2 separate regions of the Homo sapiens genome follow, and region 2 is linked to region 1. Evidence: promoter capture Hi-C in human tissues and cell types (Jung and others, 2019). All regions are on one chromosome and are shown on one strand. The core of a region is centred on a gene start or on the middle of the fragment in contact, and the rest is flanking DNA. Distances in the headings are between cores, read along the strand shown. Region 1 holds the start of CHRM3 (cholinergic receptor muscarinic 3). Region 2 overlaps ZP4 (zona pellucida glycoprotein 4).

The links. The method cuts DNA at HindIII sites, captures the fragments that hold promoters and counts their contacts. A contact is called where the count stands out against the background at its distance.
Region 2: a contact is called between a fragment that was not itself captured here and the fragment with the promoter of CHRM3 in region 1, in 1 of the 25 tissues and cell types used here (dorsolateral prefrontal cortex).

What each region holds. Positions count from the first base shown.
Region 1 is chr1:239,384,648-239,388,114 of GRCh38, reverse strand. It overlaps CHRM3 (cholinergic receptor muscarinic 3), which reads right to left and starts at 1,547. Exons shown (of 7, transcript NM_001375978.1): 1 at 888-1,547. RefSeq lists enhancers at 1-324, 325-825. The HindIII fragment of the contact is 18,968 bases long and covers 1-3,467 here.
Region 2 is chr1:237,882,167-237,885,795 of GRCh38, reverse strand. ZP4 (zona pellucida glycoprotein 4) reads left to right here. Exons shown (of 12, transcript NM_021186.5): 7 at 1-40; 8 at 216-405; 9 at 481-631; 10 at 949-1,027; 11 at 2,950-3,054; 12 at 3,247-3,392. The coding sequence ends at 3,374. It also overlaps the pseudogene LOC100130331. Among named protein-coding and RNA genes, the nearest start is that of ZP4, 6.9 kb to the left of the region's middle. The HindIII fragment of the contact is 4,833 bases long and covers 1-3,629 here.

The sequences.
Region 1 (3,467 bases), core at 298-2,797:
TCTACCACTTCCAAATGCGTGCAAGGAGAGTCGGACACACGCACAAGCATGCAGAACAGGATCTCAATTCCAGCACGCACACCGCGAAGTAGACAAGTGAATTCTGCTGCTGGAGTCAACTGTCCGCCCGCCCCCGCCGTTTAAAAACACGCAAAAATTAACCTCGCTATTAGGAGGCTATGCTGAGGAAGTGTTCCAAAGAGGAGAACCGGTGCAGTCCAGCGGCCGCTGCCTCGCGAGTGCAGACTCTCCCCGGGTCAGTAAAGATGCGCACTAGGCTAGGTACCTTCGCCCAAGTGTTACTCGAAGTGCCAAATTTGCCTTCTCGCCCCCTGAAATGCAATCCGAACTTGCGGCCCCACTGCGAGGTTGGCGGGTGCCAGCTTTAGCCTTCTTAGAAATGACAGGAAACCAAATGGGGAGATGGGAGACAAACGCTCAACACACGAGTGCGCTCACAAACACACCCGGAGCCCAGTAGCTCCTCATGCTCGGGCACTTTGGAGCCTCAGATCCGGCAGTGGCGAAGAGAGAATCGAAGCGAGGGAGAGCGGGGTGGGACGTCCCCGACTCTCTCCCGGCCACCGCTCGCATGATTCCCGTCCCTTTCGGGGCACTTGAGTGCCAGCGGGCGTTCCCCACCCTCAGTCCCAGAACTCCAACTCCGCACCAGATCGCGCTGTCGGAATTCAAGTGCCCCCATCTTCCCCAAATCAACAGCCTCTCTCGTCCCTACCCAGCCCCTTCTTTGGACTCCAAACACAAGACCTCTCCTACCCGCGCCGAAAACTTTTTCCTCCTTTCGCAACGAGATAAGGCAAGAAACCAGGTCAGCCGCTACCGCCACCCGCTCTGCCCAGCGCCTGGGTGGCGGGCGCCGTCCCTACCTGGCAGCTGCGCTCCAGGTGGCTGTCCCACGCCGGTCTCCGCGCCTGCCCGGTGCGCGGGTGGCGTCCGCTCCACCTTCCCTTCGTCTCCTCCGGCTCCGCGTTCAGGGAGCGACTGTCCTTAAGATCGTGCCCCCCTGCCCGGAGCCGCCCTTCAGTTCATCGCCCGTCTTCCCAGAAGCGCTGCTGCGGCCCCGGCGGACTGATGAGGAGCCTGGAGATCCGCGATGGCACCGATGGCCCCGCGGTGTGCGCTCCGGGGTCTGAGAGCGCTCCGCCCGCGGGCAGCTGCGGCCGCGCGTCACATGCCGCCTCCGGGCAGCGGCCGCGGCACCTGCCCAAGCGGCAGCGCTCCCGGCTCGGCAGTGCCGCCCCCGCGCCCTGTGCTCCCCTGCACGCTCCGGCCCTTTCTGTTCACGCCCTTTTCCCTCTGTCTCCCGCCTCACTTTTTCTCTTCTTTCCGTCTCCTTCTTTATCGTGTATTCCCTTTCTCCAAAAGCAGAGAGAAGGCGCTCCAAGGGGGAGGAGAGGTCTTTTCCTCCCCACGAACTCTTCCTCTGCCTGGTGGTGGCGGTCGTGGCTACTGCTGGCCGCTCCTCCTCTCCTTCCTCCTCGCGTTCCTCCTGCTCCTCCTCCTCCCCGGACTGAGAGAGCTGGTGTAATGCACAGGCTGCGTGCTTGAGACCAAAACCTGCCCGGCTTCTGAGCATGCCCAGTTGCCCTGCCGGCGCCTAGCTCCATTCCCGCGTGCCCGCTGGGCTCCGCGTTCTCCGCCTGGCAGGGGGCGAGGAGATCCCAGGGTACTCCTGGGGTGGGTTGGCTGAAAGCGGAACACCAAGCAGGAGAGAGGGGGGCCTCACCCACCCAGCATGGCCTCACCTGTTCCCAAATTGTGCCTCCCGCGGCGCTTCAAAGATAGATTTTGCCGGTCTGTTAGTTTTGTTGTGTTCGCTTTTAAATTGGTTTCCCTGGACTGCTTAGAAGGACTGGAAGGAATTCGATTCCTTGGGCACAACTTATCGATGAGTGAACTTCAGCTCAGTTACAATATACGACTCCATGGCAAACCTTTCTCTAAGGAACAGTCTGATGCATCTACTTTTTGACATTTAGTGAGTCTGTTTCTGCAGAGCAGTGTAATAGAGGACGACTTGACTTTTCCCTCCCTGGACAGTTACACCTTGGGAGAAAATAAGACAAGCATCCATGAAGAAGACACTGACGTGCACGCGCGCGCGCGCGCGCGTACACACACACACACACACACACACACACACACACACACACACACTTTTTTAAATCAGAAAATAAAATGAAAGATATAACATTGCTAGCCAGTCTTTTAAAGCTCAAGAGGAATGAAAATCTAAGAAAGAAAGAAAGAAAGAAAGAAAGAAAGAAAGAAAGAAAGAGAGAGAGACAGAAAAGGTTATTATGTACTACTGCCAGCTAACTATGTAAGGAAAAAGTGGAGAGATACCAAATTTGAAAAGATACCAATGAGGCTGTCCCACGGCACTCTCGAGGTTTTGTTTAAAAAGCACATAAGGAAAGATAACAGAGGAATCTCACAAGAAAGGACAAGCATAACAATGATAACTGAAAAAGAAGAAAAGAAAGAAAAAGGAAGGAAGGAGGAAGATAAAAAGAAGAAAAAAGCAAGAAATTGAAGCATAGTATGAAATGAAATATTTAACAATATTAAAGGCAGCAAATGATTTTAATTCTATTTGGAACAAGAAGATAAATAGGAAAAGATAGAGCTCTTTGAAAAATTAAGTAATTCTAAGAGATTAGAGAAACACCAGTATATGAATTCCTTTCTGAACCTATATTCTTCTCTAGGTAGAACAATCTTTAGGAGAGAAGAGACTAAACTTTGCGTAGAAAAGATTGAGATCATGCTGGGAAAATAGCTAGTGAGAAAGCATGTGGCTACTTAAATTAATTAAAATATCTAGGCTTAGGTAAATTGCATCCAGGATACTAGAATAGTAATAATAATAACAATATTGTAGCCTTTTTATTGGGATACCTCTCAGAAGAAAATATAACAGTTACTTTCAGATACTTCTTTAATCTTTAAAACAATCAAATGAGTATTTTATCCTTGTGTACTAAAGGAGAAAGGAATTTAAAGGAATAATTTAATTGTCCATTATATAGCTAGTAAGAGGAACATGAATTCGGATTTAATATCTTTCCCATTACATAGAATTGTTATTTGCCTGTGGAAACAGGAGTAGCTTTGATAATATTGATCCATAAAGAACAGGCAAGGACCAAAAGAATGGACAAGTAGTGATTATGTAGTTTTCAGAGAAAGACAAAAGTTATTAATTTTTAATGAAAATATTCTGGTATGTATACAATGGTTAAGTTTGAGACTGGCCTCTGGCAATGTTCTGGAGAAGATACTGAAATAAATCATTTGTGACTAGTGAGAAAAGAAAAGGAAGCAACTACAATTTAGTAAAATAAATCATACCAGATTAAATTCATTTCCACTTGTAAATAGTCACTAAACTCATAATACAGTATTTCCTGATTTCAGCTAACCTTCCCATTATCATTATGGAC
Region 2 (3,629 bases), core at 1,117-3,616, 1.5 Mb after region 1:
CAGCCTGGACCCCTCACTCTGGAACTTCAGATTGCCAAAGGTATGACCCCCTTGGCTGGAGTATCTGGCCTATAGTCTAAATCCAGTCTTCTGGGGCATGAAGACCCTAAGTTAGTAACAAGACACTTAAGGGGCTTGGGGCTATTTAAAGGGGTGACAGTCCCTCAAGTCACTGAGAGATTACTACTTCAAATCCTTATTTCTGCCTCTTGCAGATAAAAACTATGGCTCTTACTACGGTGTTGGTGACTACCCAGTGGTGAAGTTGCTTCGGGATCCCATTTACGTGGAGGTCTCCATCCTTCACAGAACAGACCCCTACCTGGGGCTGCTCCTACAACAGTGTTGGGCAACACCCAGCACTGACCCCCTGAGTCAGCCACAGTGGCCCATCCTGGTAAAGGGGTAAGTGGTTCTTTCATACACCTGTGCTGAAATTCTCAAAGAAGCCCATCCTGACTGCTGGGTCTCTTGGTCTAGCTGCCCCTACATTGGAGACAACTATCAGACCCAGCTGATCCCTGTCCAGAAAGCCTTGGATCTTCCATTTCCCTCTCACCACCAGCGCTTCAGCATCTTCACCTTCAGCTTTGTGAACCCTACAGTGGAGAAACAGGCCCTCAGGGGACCGGTAGGATGTTCCCTTCCATGACACTCACCAGGGCTCTGAACCTCCCCAACTTACAACTGTTTCCATGTCCTACTACTCTGCAGCCAAGGAAGCCCTTTAATGCTGGCTATTGGTACTGACTCAGAGCAACCCTTGTTACTAATTACATGAGTGACATCTGTCAACTGGACTCCAGTTCCTTAGTGCCATTGTGATATCAACTTGGACCATATCAATTTTCTGATAACTTCCTGAACCTCTTCCTGGGGAGGCAAAGCAGGTTTAGAGATACATGGCATGGTGATACTACAAATGACCTGAATTCTGTTGGCTCCCAGGTGCATCTGCACTGCAGCGTGTCAGTCTGCCAGCCTGCTGAGACACCATCCTGTGTGGTGACCTGTCCTGATCTCAGTCGTGAGTAACCAAGCTGTTAGAGGACAGATTTGAATGAATCTTGAGTCCCATGTCTAACCTTTCCTAGTCTCTGGCCAAACAACTCAAACTGAAGATTCATCTTACTAAGGCTTCTCTAAGTACTTGCGGTGCCATAGAACAAAGATGACTAGCTTCCCAGAATCCCATGTCTCCTAAAACAAGCTATAAATGTTCGGGTAACCCTCAACCTTAGCTTTTTCCATATAAACTTTAATTCATCCACCAACCAAGGCAGTTTATGGCCTATCTTATGTCTCATTTTAACAAGATACACCTGAATAGTTGAGAAACATGTCTGTACCTGCTTGACAGGTCTGGCAATGCAGCCTAAAGATCTATAAGTAGAATGACTGGACCTAGAATGTGGTCTCTAGTTCGTTGGGTCCAATGCTTCTAAGTAGTCAATGTGTCTGTATGTCTACATGGGTTCTACCTGTACTTGCCTAGCCTCTGAGTTTGGATTCATGACCTCTAAAGCTTTAAGTGCCTTCTAGCAAAACTCATAGTAACTAAATGGTGCTTTATTATGCAAAGTACAACATTAAGTAACATCTCCAAAAATGCATATTATCACTACTTCTAAAGAATGAACCATCTTAGATTGAGGTCCTACAACTGGCAAATAGAAGTAGAATTAAAACAGTTCTACACTGTTTGTGTGTGTTTGTGTGTGTTTGTGTGTGTTTGTGTGTGTTTGTGTGTGTTTGTGTGTGTTTGTGTGTGTGTGTGTTTGTGTGTGTGTGTGTGTGTGTGTGTGTGTGTGTTTGTGTGTGTGTGTGTTTGTGTGTGTGACCAGTTCTTGCTCTGTCATGCAGGTTGGAGTACAATGGCATGATTACAGTTCATGGTAGCCTCGACCTCCTGAGCTCAGGTGATACGCCCAGTTCAGCCTCCCAACTAAAACTACAGGCGTATTCTACTATGCCCAGCCTTTCTCCCTCTCTTCCTCTCTCTTCCTCTCTCTTCCTCTCTCTTCCTCTCTCTCCCTCTCTCTCCCTCTCTCTCCCTCTCTCTCCCTCCCCCGCCCTCCCCCGCCCTCCCCCGCCCTCCCCCGCCCTCCCCCGCCCTCCCCCGCCCTCCCCCGGCCCTCCCCCGCCCTCCCCCGCCCTCCCCCTCCCCCTCTCTCCCACCTCAGCCTCCTGAGTAGCTGGGATTACAGGCATGTGCCACAAAGTCCAGCTCATTTTGTATTTTTGGTAGAGACAGGGATTCACCACGTTGGCCAGGCTGGTCTTGAACTCCTGACCTTAGGTGATCCACCTGCCTTGGCCCCCCAAAGTGTTGGGATTACAGGCATGAGCCACCACGCCCGGCCTTTGTCTTATTTTTTTATAGAGATGGATCTTTATGTTGCCTGGGCTGGTCTCAAACTCCAGAAAGCTTTTTTTCCTCACTGTCCACCTGCAGGTGTGTCCTTTGTTTCCCACTCTTCCATTTGCCATCTTGCCATCTTTCTTAATAAAACATAGGATACAGAAAACGTAAAACTGTATATTTCAAGTGAATGAAATTTGTTTTACTTCACTTGAAAACCAGATCTAAACTCATTAAATTGTTTTCTCTGCATCTCAGCCTCCAAGTTCTGTTCTAATAGTTACCTTTGAATTTCAGGGAAAGATCTCTGAATTATAAACATGATACTGTCAAAGTACTATTTAGAAAAGGATGGCAGTTCAGGGATAGTTTCTAACATCTTTATACGAAAGTCCTGGTGAAACTAAGGTAATGGCATCAGATATAAAATCTCACTTGTTCAAGTACATATTAATATACTTAATGAGGTTTTTGTAAGGCATAGAACCAAGCTTTATAGAGACACTTGGCCTTGCACCATAACATTTTCTATCCCTGCCCTATGTGTGCAAAAACTAATGAATTACTAGGTCTCATTTCTCTAACAGGAAGAAGAAATTTTGACAACAGTTCTCAGAACACTACTGCTAGTGTTTCTAGCAAAGGCCCCATGATTCTACTCCAAGCCACTAAGGACCCTCCAGAAAAGCTCCGTAAGTATCCAAGAGGGAGGAGATCAAACTAGTGAACTAAATTACTAATCAAAGCAACTTCCTCCTTTCTATCCCTCTTGTTCTAGTCAAAAGAAATTGACCTTCCTATAGCAGAAGACTGCTAGTCTTTGTCAGGACACAGAATCACTTGGTTTTAGCATACATTAACCTACCTTTCCATCCATCCTCCAGGTGTTCCTGTAGACTCGAAAGTTCTGTGGGTGGCAGGCCTTTCTGGGACCTTAATCCTTGGAGCCTTGTTAGTATCCTACTTGGCTGTCAAGAAACAGAAGAGTTGCCCAGACCAAATGTGTCAATAAAACCAGAGTGTATTCCCAGCCTGTGCTGAGCTTCTCATTTGAAAGGTAAAAGGTTAATTTCAGACTAGTTCATCTGTTCACATCACTTTATCTCTTAAGCTTGGTAGTATAACTCAACTGAGAATAGAATAGAAACTGATACAAAAATTTCAGACTTAGTAGAGGTCTTAGGTCAGAGAACGTGGAATAAAATTTTTCCATAAGATCAAGGAAACTAGGGTAGAACTAATTATGAATCTAGATCACTGGTTCTCA